Linked DNA regions of Homo sapiens: regions 2, 3, 4 and 5 are each linked to region 1. The links are contacts of gene promoters, found by promoter capture Hi-C in blood cells and fetal thymus (Javierre and others, 2016). All regions are on one chromosome and are shown on one strand. Each heading gives the region's core, a stretch centred on a gene start or on the middle of the fragment in contact. The rest is flanking DNA. Distances are from core to core; before and after follow the strand shown. Region 1 holds the start of LRPPRC (leucine rich pentatricopeptide repeat containing). Region 2 overlaps CAMKMT (calmodulin-lysine N-methyltransferase). Region 3 holds the start of THADA (THADA armadillo repeat containing). Region 4 overlaps PREPL (prolyl endopeptidase like). Region 5 overlaps PREPL (prolyl endopeptidase like).

The links. The method cuts DNA at HindIII sites, captures the fragments that hold promoters and counts their contacts. A CHiCAGO score of 5 or more calls a contact.
Region 2: a contact is called between a fragment that was not itself captured here and the fragment with the promoter of LRPPRC in region 1, in 5 of 17 cell types (total CD8 T cells, naive CD4 T cells, fetal thymus and 2 more). The highest score is 8.3, in total CD8 T cells.
Region 3: the fragment with the promoter of THADA here is called in contact with the fragment with the promoter of LRPPRC in region 1 in 14 of 17 cell types (megakaryocytes, naive CD4 T cells, naive CD8 T cells and 11 more); the score reaches 10.6 in megakaryocytes.
Region 4: a contact is called between a fragment that was not itself captured here and the fragment with the promoter of LRPPRC in region 1, in 12 of 17 cell types (activated CD4 T cells, total CD8 T cells, naive CD4 T cells and 9 more). The highest score is 11.5, in activated CD4 T cells.
Region 5: a contact is called between a fragment that was not itself captured here and the fragment with the promoter of LRPPRC in region 1, in 1 of 17 cell types (non-activated CD4 T cells). The highest score is 5.1, in non-activated CD4 T cells.

What each region holds. Positions count from the first base shown.
Region 1 is chr2:43,994,715-43,997,274 of GRCh38, forward strand. LRPPRC (leucine rich pentatricopeptide repeat containing) reads right to left here and starts at 1,275. Exons shown (of 38, transcript NM_133259.4): 1 at 1,085-1,275. The coding sequence starts at 1,233. RefSeq lists enhancers at 826-1,477, 1,273-1,552 and a silencer at 853-1,172. The HindIII fragment of the contact is 4,663 bases long and covers 1-1,454 here.
Region 2 is chr2:44,390,644-44,393,203 of GRCh38, forward strand. The region is part of intron 3 of CAMKMT (calmodulin-lysine N-methyltransferase); the gene reads left to right. LOC124905998 (a long non-coding RNA gene) reads left to right here. Exons shown (of 3, transcript XR_007086301.1): 1 at 1-2,560. Among named protein-coding and RNA genes, the nearest start is that of CAMKMT, 30 kb to the left of the region's middle. The HindIII fragment of the contact is 1,381 bases long and covers 595-1,975 here.
Region 3 is chr2:43,594,759-43,597,318 of GRCh38, forward strand. It overlaps THADA (THADA armadillo repeat containing), which reads right to left and starts at 1,280. Exons shown (of 38, transcript NM_022065.5): 1 at 1,173-1,280. The HindIII fragment of the contact is 4,194 bases long and covers 1-2,140 here.
Region 4 is chr2:44,348,056-44,350,615 of GRCh38, forward strand. The region is part of intron 1 of PREPL (prolyl endopeptidase like); the gene reads right to left. Among named protein-coding and RNA genes, the nearest start is that of PREPL, 12 kb to the right of the region's middle. The HindIII fragment of the contact is 946 bases long and covers 823-1,768 here.
Region 5 is chr2:44,323,834-44,326,393 of GRCh38, forward strand. All of the region lies in intron 10 of PREPL (prolyl endopeptidase like), which reads right to left. Among named protein-coding and RNA genes, the nearest start is that of PREPL, 36 kb to the right of the region's middle. The HindIII fragment of the contact is 2,443 bases long and covers 52-2,494 here.

The DNA of each region.
Region 1 (2,560 bases), core at 25-2,524:
AGCTCAGCACCTATCTCCCCTTCTCTGGTGGTCAGAATACTATTAATAACCAAATGAACACTTTCACCAACTTTTCTTTTCCCCTCCACTACAAAAGTCTATACCAAACCTATCTCTGATAAACCTCAAACCATGAGAGCATTTATTCGCCTATCTGACACCCACTTAGAGTTTAACTTGCCTTTGCATCCCCAGATTCCAACAGAGTGCCTTGCATGTGCTCATTCATTCAAAGACACTTACAGGACGGGAGCGGTGGCTCACACCTGTAATCCCAGCACTTTGGGAGGCCGAGGCAGGAGGATCGCTTGAAGTCAGGAGTTCGAGACTAGCGTGGCCAACATGGTGAAACCCAGTCTCTACTAAAAGTACAAAAGTTAGCCTGGCATGGTGGCGCACACCTGTAATCCCAGCTACTCGGGAGGCTGAGGCAGGAGAATCGCTTGAACCCGGGAAGCGGAAGTTGCAGTGAGCTGAGATCGCGCCACTGCACTCCAGCCCAACTCGCGCAACACCTTCTTAAATGCTGAAGGAAAACTCCATTCAAGAGAACGCAGGCAAAAGCCCAAAGTGATCATAATCCAGCGTCCAGCTTTAAGTCATCCGTGGCTCACCCAAACTCCCAACCCACTCCTCGCCGCCCCATCCCTCGCAAAAAGCTAAATTTCCAATATCTAAATGCTAGGTGGTTACTGATCACCAACGGTGACCGCACGTGGGACACCACCCAAGCTGGCCAAGTGTAAGGAAAAGACCACCACCCGACTTCCCAAAGCAGTCTTCAAAGCCCCCCTCATCTTCGTTGACCATGGGTACCCCGAGGGCAGTAAGGTCCAGGCTGAAGTGGCGGGGGCAGGATTCAAGCCGGAGGCAGGCCATGCCCACAGCCGTGACCTTCTGAAGGCGCTTAACCCTGTCACCCGAAAACCCCTGGTAGGGAGCGTGGTGCGGAGCCCGGGGAGGCTAGGTCCTGGGGCGGGGAGAAGGGTGGCGAGCACAGGCAGGACCCGGTCCCTGCCGGCACCCACGACCCCGGGGGACCCTGGCGCCGCAGCTTGCCTGGAGAAAGGGCCTGGGCACTCACCCGGCCACGGGCCCGGCGCGAGCGGCGGGCAGATAGGAGGCGGCATGCAGCCGGCCCGGGCCGCCAGGGAGGAGGCGCAGGGAGAGCGGGAGGCGCGGGGCCGCCCCGGCACGCAGCAACCAACGCGCGGATCTCAGCAGGGCTGCCATTGCTCGAACGTCCCCGCAGCGGGAAGCACGCTCCGCCAGAAGGACAGGAGGAGCATGTGACCGCAGGGTAGCCTGGCGCGGCAGAGACCAACTGCCGGGCGTGCCAAATGTGGGGGGAGCGACGGATTGTTTTAGGTTGGAAGATGGAAAACCGCACTTCTCCGAGGACAGAAGACCCAATGTAATATTTACATAAACGATGTTGCTTGATTCATTATCGAAGCTTTTCTTTTCCGTCTTCCGTCTCCGATCTGGGCATCGTGTTCATTCGCTGCACCCCTGCACTCCTCTGTTGGTAGAGCCGCAAGAGGTCAACTCCTCCCAGGTTGGCGCAGAGGCTTGTGGGAGGCCAACTAGTAAAAATACCGAGAACTCTCGAGGAGAGCCGACTATGAAGATCCCAGGACGTGGGAAGGTTTCCCCCGCCCCCGAGTGCAGATGTTGCTGCTAACGTTCAGCCCTGACGCCATGTCCAATAGGAACGGCCCTTCACTCTCAGAAACGCGGGCCGGAGAAACCGTGGAGGTCTTTTGCACCTTGCCGTTTGCCTCCCAGGTTCAACATGATAGGATGTGGATTATCAGGGCCTGGGAACAGTGTAAAGGAACGCGCAGGTCCCCACCCTAAGCGCGTACGCGGGGCCTCGCTTTAGAAAATAAATGAATTCTACCAAAAATCCTATAGTTTTAAAGCTGGAATTGAACTGACTCTCTTCCCCAACCCTCCACCCCTACCGCGCCTCTCCCTTCAGTAAATGCACATATACATGTGAGAAGTAAAAGAACAATGTAATTAAGAGTCTCCAGCCAAATATGGGGAGAAAACTGGCAAGTTAAACCCATCGCTGGCGAAGTGGCTCACGCCTGTAATCCCATCACTTTGGAAGGCCGAGGCGGGTGGATCACCTGAGGTCAGGAGTTGGAGACCAGCCTGGCCAACATGGTGAAACCCCATCTGTACTAAAAATACAAAAAATTAGCCGGGCGTGGTGGCGGGCGCCTGTAATCTCAGCTACTCGGGAGGCTGAGGCAGGAGAATTGCTTGAACCCGAGAGGTGGAGGTTGCAGTGAGCCAAGATGGCGCCATTGCACTCCAGCCTGGGTGACACAGCGAGACTCTGTCTAAAACAAAACAAAAAAACCACGTCGCTGCCTTCACAGGGCTTACAGACTGGATCGGTTCCCTGTGCACACGTGGGAAGCTGAGAACAGCCTTCCACTCCCTCTACACCTGCCTGTCCCCTACCTATCACGAGGCAAACGCGGCGGGTATTTCCTCTGGAAGCCCTCCCACGGTCATTTCCGAAGTGACTGTTTATCCCACTGGA
Region 2 (2,560 bases), core at 35-2,534, 400 kb after region 1:
TTCAGTAGTGGGGCTGTTTCTTCCTTCTTTGCTTTGTTTCGGGTGCTTTCTTTGCCATTCCCTGCTTCTTTACTTTCACTGTAGAATAAACCCAGAACATATTTTTCTTGATGCTACTATACATTAATACCAGAGTGTTTTTGTTTGATGCAGTATTACAATATTACAGAATATATTGCCTTTTCATCAAAGCTTCTGATTAATTGGTGATAGATTTGTCCACTGAGAAAATCACTTAAATATTTCTTATAATTCTTGTAATTAATTTCATGTGATGAAAGACATCAGCCAAGAATACCTTTATGTCACTGAGTTAAACAGCATACCATCATAGGAGCTATGGACTTTTTATGTTTTTTGTATAGGACATTTCTCTTAAGATAGTGAATTGTCAATGAAATATGAGCATTTTAAATGTAAAAATAGTACTCATACTCTTTTTCTCAAAGAAAATTTCAGAACTGTTAACTTTTGGCTGAATTTAGGTAGTGTCTTTGGCTTAACAATGCAGTTTTATCAAATAAATAGATTTGCATAGAATTGTGTTCAGTAATACTCAGACAACACTTTTGTTCTTATGTCCACATTATGATAAGCTTTTGATTTTATAGAAAAATATTTGTGGTTCACTAAGGAATCTATAAATGTCCTTAAATTATCCTAAATACCTAAAATAATGTAGGTTTCTTTTTTATGGATAGTGACTGATGTGCCTTTTAGTTTCTTTCTTTTTTTTTAAATTTTCCAAACACCAACTTGAACCCGAATGCCTTTTAGTTTTTCCATGTTGGCATTTAGTGAATTCTCTCCCACTTAGGTGTATCTCATATTTTTATTAGGTCTAGGCAAGGACTGGGCAAAGCATACCAATGATGGTTGAGGATACATACTCTTTTAGTTCTGGGGTAATGTTAAATATCATTGAGTCAGGCTTAAACATATGTAATTTCAGAAAATGATTCTAGAATGTTAAATGTGGAATTTTTGATTCAGTAATGTAAAAGTCAAGTATTGTTCCCAGTTGGCTCCGTATGAAATAGGGCCACTAGCTGACAGCATTATGTAAAATAAAAATAATTTCCTAAAGGCATCAATTATTATTTTAGGCATGAATGACTGTCTTAGCCTTCTCTAACATTTTTTCCCATCAACTTGTTCCATACCCCGTGTTGTTGTTGCATGAACAAACGGAAATATTGCATATTCAGGGTGTTTTTTCACTGTTGTCTCTTGTTTGGTAGAAAGGTTTAAGACTTTGGAATGATACTCACCTGCATTTGACTTCTGGCTCTGAAATTCATCTTGAGCAATTTGTATCATCTCTATGAACCTCAACTGTTTTCATCTCTTAGGGCTGGCTGTGTTATAAAGAAAGTACGTACATACTGCATGGCTGAGAGTTGATATGCAATAAAAGTTATTAATTATTACTGGCGATGAGTACCTATATAACCTCTTTTGGTTTTTTCCTAATAAAGAAGATAATATTATTAGGATTATTCTGTCTTATACTATTTTAATTGAACTAACAGGGCAGAAAAATTAGATAAAATTAGCAAAATAGCTGTTTATTAAAATGCCTCATTATAAATGTTGCCTTAAAAACCTGGATATATTGCTGAGTGATAGAAGTGGTGACAAAAATAAGACCTCTTAAAATATGTTGTTTTGTGTACCTTTTATGTTTACTTTTTATTTTAACAGAAAAATCTATATAGATGTTTCATTTAATGATAAATTGGTAAAGTCCTGTTCCAATAAAGTAAATATTGATTATGACTTTTATATAATCTTGGACGTAAAGTAACCATGGACTGAAAAAGTGATTTTTCACTTGATGCCTCAAAAATTTGATTTTATTATGCCAATAGTGATATTGAGTTTGTGACTAGAAAACCCAGCAGAGGGCGCCACAATCATAATTCTTTGTCATAGCCCAATATAATTAGGATAAATAGCTCAAATAATAACCCTAAGCTTTTACCATGTAGACATATAAAGATGTGTCTAAACATTTCTATTTGATTCATTTATAATATATTTAATATATTCAGTAATTCAAAAATACAAAAAAATAGATTTTTCCTGGCCGATTTTTTAATTTTTAAAAATATCAGTTTAATTTTTCTACTTCTAGCTTTAAATAAAGAAGTACTTTTGATAGAGAGTGAAAGTTCCATACAAGAGTATCAGTTCATAAATCACCACCATGGTAGTATGTTAAAGGACAATTAGAATGAGGAAAAAAGTTTCTAATAGATGAGAGAACCAAGAGATGGAATTATCTATTTATTTTAAGAATTTGTTTCTAGGTTAATAATGCTTCCTAGTAATAGAAAAAACAGCTTAACTAAAACATTTTCTAGTCACAAAAACCTGATATGTGTAGATACAGTAAAAAAAGGTATGGTCATGGTTTAGTAGAACCATTAATTTCAATTGTAAGTTCATTTTGAATATCAGGGGATGATTATATTCATTGCAAATTTTCAGAGATGAAAGGATCAGTCTTACCTTCTGAATTGGTTTATGCTCTAAGTGAAAAGACGTGGAAAAATCT
Region 3 (2,560 bases), core at 30-2,529, 400 kb before region 1:
CTCAGTATCTCTGCCCCTTAATGTTCATTCCACATCTTTGCAAGACTGACTCCTTCTCACCATTCATGTTTCTGCTGCAACATTACCTTCTAAAAGCCTTCCATGACCACTCTATCTAAAATCTCACCAATACAACACACGTAGACACCATTTCCGTTAATTTTCTTCATAGCACTTACTAGTACCAGAAATTACCCTAACTTGTAAATTTGTATATTGTCTGTCTCACCTAGTAGCAAACTGAATGAAGGCAGCAACTTTAATCTATTTTGTTCATGTTTCAAGTCTCAATTTCCAAACCAGTGCCTGGCACATAGTAGGTGTTTAACAAACACTTCACGAATAAACAAATTAATTAACAAACATTTGTCAGAGATGTTCTAGAAGGGATATATGTCTTTAAGGGCAGGAAGGTGGACTATCTGGTACCTAAAATGCATTCTACATCTAAGTGACATTCTACATCTTAAGAACCTATGGTCTGTTTGGGAAGTAAGAAATCCATACAGTAATGGCAGGTGAGCAACCACTTAACCAAAAATGGACGCAGCTAGGAAAGTGTCGACAACAGAATAATTTGTAAAGGGATAGTCAGATCTAGAGGAATAGAGGCACGCTTCCTAAGAAAGTGACCATCGTACAAAGCCAGAAGAGACTGGGAAACCTAACTAGGGAGACTATTCTCTGGTGAAAGGTAAGCAAGTTTGCAGGAGGATTTGCTCTTGCAATTCTGAGGGCTACACAAAAGCAGACTCGGTAATTATGCCTGCTCAAATGATGCCTAAACGTGTGTCCTGAAGAACCAGGGTCCCCAAGGGGGTAAATCCCGTGTCTACCGCAAGGCCAGAAGGTGCCCAGTAAATTACACTCCTCCTAGGTCCCACTTACTGCTTCCCTTTAGAACGCTGCTTCACTCTACACCTTCCTGGCTGACTCCCACAAACATTCTCTGGGCGATTTCTGAACCACGTGGAGTCGAGGAATGACAGTGGGAGAAAGTGGTTAAAGTGCTGTCTCCATGGAGACCTTAGCGACCGGAAATCAGTTTCACAGCCGCCGAATCCTGGCGATACCAAAGGATGGGAATTGGTGTGGCTCGCCAGGCAGCCCTAGCAAAACTGGCCGAGCCGAGCTACCGCGGGTCTGGCAGGCAGGACACCTGGGAGCCAAACCTCGTGCACGTCGGCGTCTGAGAAGAGTCGCAGGCGCCTGGTCCAGTCCCGGAAGCAGGTCTCCTTCTACGGCGTCTCCGAGGCTCGCAGCGCGGTCCACGGTCGACTACCGGGTCAGGGCAAAGGGAGGGAGAGAGGGGTAACCTGGAGGAGTCATCGCGAGAATTGACCAAACGCAGCTCCTCCAATCAGGAGTTCGAGGAGGTCGTGACGTCACCGGGGTGGCCGGTAGCAATCCGGTTTAGTTAACCAGCCACTGTACCGTCAGCGCCGCGCGTTCCTCATGGCGTTAGGGCTGACGGGCCTTGTTGCTGAGGGGCCTTCATTCAACGGTCTCTTGTTGAATGAAAAGACCTCATTCTCTTCACATGCTTGGACGCCTGGGAAGCGCTTTTCTCCCAATCCAGACCTTCCACCTTTCTCCCACTCTGTTGGCCCAGTGCAGAGTCTAGGAGAAAACTACGTCTGGGACTCGGGAACGAGTCCAGGGAGTTTAGAGCCTGCGAGATGGGGCAGGGGTTTGGGCGGCGACTGAACGGAAGCCACGAGAAGGATTCGGACTAAAATGAGTAGTGCTGAACCAACGTGTGCCAAAGCGCATATATTCATTCAATAGATAATGAACTCTACTGTCAGAGCGTCGCCAAGCGCTAGCCTTGAAAGCTATCCCCTACTGAGGATACATGTATTACGCAGCACATACAAATTGTCAGATGGTTCAGTCCTTGAAAAATAAATACAATAACGGGGTGTCACTGGGAGCTGCGACAGTGGGCAAGATCAGGAAAGACCTGATGCTATTATCAGGAGTATTAATTTGGAAAATAGAGACATTTCAGTTCTCTAAACGTTAATGACTTAAGTTTTTAATAATTATTTTCTGAATTTTTTATATCAGCTTGCCTTGGTTTTCTTTATAGCTTTACCACATAATGTATGTATCACTATCTTGTTTCGTTCAATTTTGAAGCTTTTGGAATTGCGTATGTATTCTCCAGCAATTTGCTTCTTTCAGCATTGCTTTTCATATTCACCTACAGGTGGCTGTAGTGCTCTTCGCCCAGGCTGGAGTGCAGTGGCGCGATCTCGGCTCACTGCAAACTCTGCCTCCCGGGTTCAAGTGATTCTCCTGCCTCAGCCTCCTAAGTAACCGGGATTACAGGCGCGCGCCACCACGCTCAGCTAATTTTTGTATTTTTTAGTGGAGACGGGGTTTCACCATGTTGCTCATGCTGGTCTTGAACTCCTGACCTCGTGATTCGCCCGCCTCGGTCTCCAAAAGTGCTGGGATTACAGGCGTGAGCCATGGCGCCCGGACCGTAATTTTCCATTGTTTAATATACTTCATTATGTATCCATCCTGCTGCCTCTTAACATGTGCATTATTT
Region 4 (2,560 bases), core at 46-2,545, 350 kb after region 1:
TTTCTGAATTTTTTTTAAGAGACAGGGTCTCACTATGTTGCCCAGGCTGGACTCAAACTCCTGGGCTCAAGCAATCTTCCTGCCTCAGCCTCCCAAGTAGATGGGACTATAGATAGGTGTGTGCCTCCTCATTCCATACAGTTAATTTTTTGAGTAATTATTTGAAGATCAAATACTGGAGGCTTATATATTTATTTTTCATTCATTTTTAAAGCATTTCTACAAAATCTACAGTTGATCTTTAAAGTGGTGAGACATGATATCTGTATCAATAATCCCCTCATATCACCATCATAAGTCAGAAGATGACTAAAAATCTATTCTGAAACTGTAAAATAGCAATAGGAGCTGCCTTTGCATTTCTAGATTCAGGATTGTCTGTTCTGTAATTTCCATTAAAACTTTTGAAGTAGAGTCAGGATTATCTCTCTACTACCCTGTAGCTTCTAGCACATTCTAGGTCATGGAGCTGGGTTCTGTCACTTTTAAATACTCATTCTTACTGAGAGTCATAGCCAACACAGAGCCAAAAGCAACAGAGCGGGCTCCAAAACTCATCTTCTTAACTTTACATTCCTTCCTGATTAACATTTTTTCTGTCATATATCCAAATAAACTGAGCTTATCTGAACCAAAATAACTCTGAAAGCAATAGGATTTTTGACTCCCTTAACGAAATTCAAGCAGAACTCAACAGCTTTCTAAGTAACTCTTCTAAAGGAATTACTCCCATGGAAACTGAGGTTTTATATAATATTCATTAAGTACTCCAGGTTACTTTTGGTTTTTGTTGCGTCCCAGGGATACCTGCTCAGTGTTTTAAGCTTTCATTTCAATTTCAGCTAGCAATATCATTAGCGTACACAGCTAAAGCCATCCATTTTAGCCAGGTATCTTAGTCCAGTTGTTTCAAAGGCATATACTACCCAATGGAGCTGAGGTAAGGATGGCTTTACCTTCAGATTTTGAGAAGGTTACTGGTACAGTATCACTCCATTAGTGGTAAAAAGAAGCACTCCTTCCCACTCCCCAAGTGACCCACCACTAAATCATTTTAACAATGAAAGCTGTTATAAAATAGAAGGAGAATGATATGTGTTAACTTTATCATGGCAAAGATGCTGAACTCTAAAGATAGAAAAAATGGTGAAGTAGAAAGACACCGGACAGCCCTTCAGTCAAGACTAATTAGCCATTAGTAAATGGCTAATTCTAAGGCTAGAGCAGGGAGAAAATACATGGTAGGTTTGGGAAATCTTATGCCAGAAAATAAGGAAGTGCTCAAAGTTTAATGGAGACATGTCAAAAGAATACAAGTGTCAACTGAAGGGGTTTCTACAGGCCACATTTTGGACAACTGGAGCCTCAAAAAGAATAATAAATAATAAATAATACATTGAAAAAACATAAATCCACAGCAATTGAAAAACAGAATGCAATATGAAGCATTTCAATTTAGGAAAACAGAAAAAGAGTAAGTCTTAAGGAAGTAGAAGAAAGGTAAGAAAATTAATTTTTGAAATTAAATTGATAACAAAGAAACTAAAGAGAATCAAATTAAAAGTTGGTTCTTTTAGAAACCTATTAAAAAACAAACATCACAAAACTGATAGAAAAAAGAATACGAGGCCGGGCGCGGTGGCTCACGCCTGTAATCTCGGCACTTCGGGAGGCCAAGGCGGGTGGATCACGAGGTCAAGAAAAAAGAATACGAGGAGAGAAAAAGGCATAATTACAGATACAACAGAGATTTTTAAAAATTACAATAAGCTTTATGTGAATCTATTTGAAAATAAATGAAATGGGTAATTTTCCAGGAAGAAAAATTACCAAAATTGACCCAAGAAATAGAAAAGCTATATAAGTCACTAACTCTTAAAGAAATTAAATTGCTAACTAAATGTCCCCTTCTTGAAAGAAACACCAAGCCCAGATGCTTTCAAATGTAGCTTTCTTGGATCTTCAAGAAACAGCTAATCTTTTCATACGTCAACTATTTAAAAAAATAGTAAAAGAGGTAAAACTACTCATTTTATTAGGCTAATATAACCTTGACATCAAAATTAGACAATGATGATATGAGACAATTAAAAAAATCAATCTTATTCTAAAATAAAACTTGATAAAATCAAATTTTTAATTTTAAAAAGCACAAAATAAGAACAGTAATAGTAATACCAATTAAACTTAATGTGACCAAGAAGGATTTTTTCCTAAGAATGAAAGGATGGTCCAACATCAGAAAAAAATCTATCAATGTAATCTAACACAAATAAAGGAGATAAATCTTAGAGCCATTTTTGATAAATGCAGGGAAAAAATAAAAAATAATCACACTTTAAAAAAATGATAAAACCTTAAATTAGGAATAGAGAGGAACTTCCTTAATAGTTTCTGTCAGTTATCTTACACAGAAATATACTAAATCTGTAATCAAAATACCTGAAATTAATTCATATTAGCATATACATGGTATTTAGCAACCATGAAACACCAATGAGATTTCCAAAATTTTAATAATGTTCATGTAAAACAACTAATTGTATTTGCTGTTAACTCA
Region 5 (2,560 bases), core at 23-2,522, 330 kb after region 1:
AAAATGGGGGAGCTGCTTTGGAAAACAGTATGGTGGTTCATCAAAGAGTTAAGCTTAAGATTACCATATGATCCAGCAATTCCACTCCTGGCATATAATCCCCAAAACTGAAAGCAGGGTCTTAAAGAGATCTGCATACCTATGTTCACAGCAGCATATTCACAACAGCCAAAAGGTGGAAGCAACTCAAGTGTCCATTAACCAAAGAACGAATAAGCAAAATGTGGTATACACATGCAATATTACATGGAATATTATTCAGCCTTAAAAATGAATAAAATTCTGATCCACGCTACAATATGGATGAACCTCAAGGATATAATCTAAGTGAAATAAGCCAGTCACAAAAAATTTTGTATGACTCCACCTATGTGAGGTGTTTGAGTAGTCAAATTCACAGAGACAGAGGCTGTGGGAAGAAGCAAATGGAGAGCTGTTTAATCGGTACAGGGTTTCAGTTTTGTTAAGATGAAAAACGAGTTCTGGAGATTGACTGCATAAGCCTATGAGTGCACTTACCACTACTGAACTATTCACTTAAAAATGGTTGAGATGGTAAATTTTATGGTATTTTACCATAATTAAAAATTTTTAAATGAAAAAAATACACAAGGAATAAAGTCTTTTTGACCAGTTGGACATTTTATATTAAAAGCAAAAAACGCTAAGTAAAGAAACTCTGCAAAATACCCAAGGTGAAAGAAGAGAAAACAACCCATTGGCTTATAATTAGTGTTACAAAATTTAATAAAACGAAGGCTGGGTCGCACATGGTGGCTCATGCCTGTAATCCCAGCACATTGGGAGGCTGAGGTGGGCAAATCACTTGAGCCCAGGAGTTTGAAACTAGCCTGGGTAGCATGGTAAAACCACATCTCTACAAAACAACAACAAACCACAAAAATTAGCAGGGCATGGTGGCACATGCCTGTAGTCCCAGATACTCAGGAGGCTGAGGTGGGAGGATCACCTGAGCCCCAGAGGTCGAGGCTGTAGTGAGCTGTGTTCGTGTGCCATTGCATTCCAGCCTGGGTGAAAGAGCAAAACTCTGACTCAAAAAACAAAACAAAACAAAACAAAAAAACAAAAACCCCACAAAAACAACAAAACAAAAATGAAGGCTGTATTTTTCACTTAGCTTTATTTTCTTCTGTTAACATACTTTTTAGCTTTCCCTCATATTAACATTAACCAAGTATAGTGAGTCATCTGTAATTCTTTTTGGCTGCCTACCATATGAACTTTTTTGCATTTGAAAAACCTCCAACCTTATCAGCTAGAGCCTGCCTCTCACTGTGGAGATACTAAGTGCTAGACTTCTCTTTCCCATTTTTCCCTGCAGCTTGGGAGTAGCTGTGTGACCCATGTGTGACTTGGGTCTATCAACCAGACACATGTGCTTTACACTCTGCATGGAAAGTTAGTGATTCAAAGAAGCAGTGATCACAGATAATTTATTCTGGCAAAAGTGCCACAGCTATATCCAGCTCTAGAAGTTGCACTGGCAGTGTGAGGTGATTTGTGCTTGGCAGTGGCGGCAGTAATAGTTTCATTGGGCCAATTCTATGCCTTTGGCTCTGAAGCCTCTAACACTGGTCTGAAGACACCTACATTTTCCTAATGCCCTTTAATCCCTTTTCTGCTTAAATTAGGGTTGATTTTTGGTGCTTATAAGAAGAATTTGACTTATACATGTATAAAAGGTTGTCTCCTAGTCTTCACTATAATAAGCAACCTAGCATAAATATCCTTCTCATCATTTCCTTTTAAATTTCTAAAAGTCAAAATCTAGTTGCTTTGTCTTTAAACTGTAAATAATTCTGCCATTATCTTTGTGCATAGGCTATTCTCCACATTTTTCTGTTTTTAAAAAATAGACTTACAGGTGACTACTATTTAACACTTATTTACAAGCCCACAGTATAAACTCCCCAACCTCAAAATAAAAAATCCTGAAAATAATTTACTCTCTCCCATCTCAGTCATTATTTTTCAGAGTAACCTAGAAGTAGGAGAATGATAGCAGTGAAACCAACTGCTACAATGTAACTTCGTAATTTCTGACACTGGGAAAAGATAATCATTTTCAGAACAGGGTAAGATATTTCAATTAAAATACGGAAAAACTATGCCCAAACGACCATTAAGAATGGACTATCTAAAAATAAAGAGCCTATAAATCTAGGACTGAAATGTTGATGGGCAGTAGCCTGTCAAGGTGACCAGGAGCCAAAGGACTCAGTGCATTCCAGAGTCACAGCGTGCTTTGCCTGGCTTTCTCAACTGGGACTCATATATGCTTCAGTGCTTTTTCACCAATTCTAAATGTCCTTACAAATACAAATGAGCAATGGAAATAGCCATTAATATCTTTCAGTGGAAAGCCTTAAAGATAATAAAGAACACTGTATCAGAGAAGAATAACGGTTAATAGTTGGATTAAAATAACTTTAGAAGTTCTCCTCAAGCTATAATTCTGAGTTTAAAACTTAAAAGCTTTGTTATACTCCTATGCTATGGTAAAACTGTAACAGAAATGTTTTTCTTTCCTTTTTTTTTT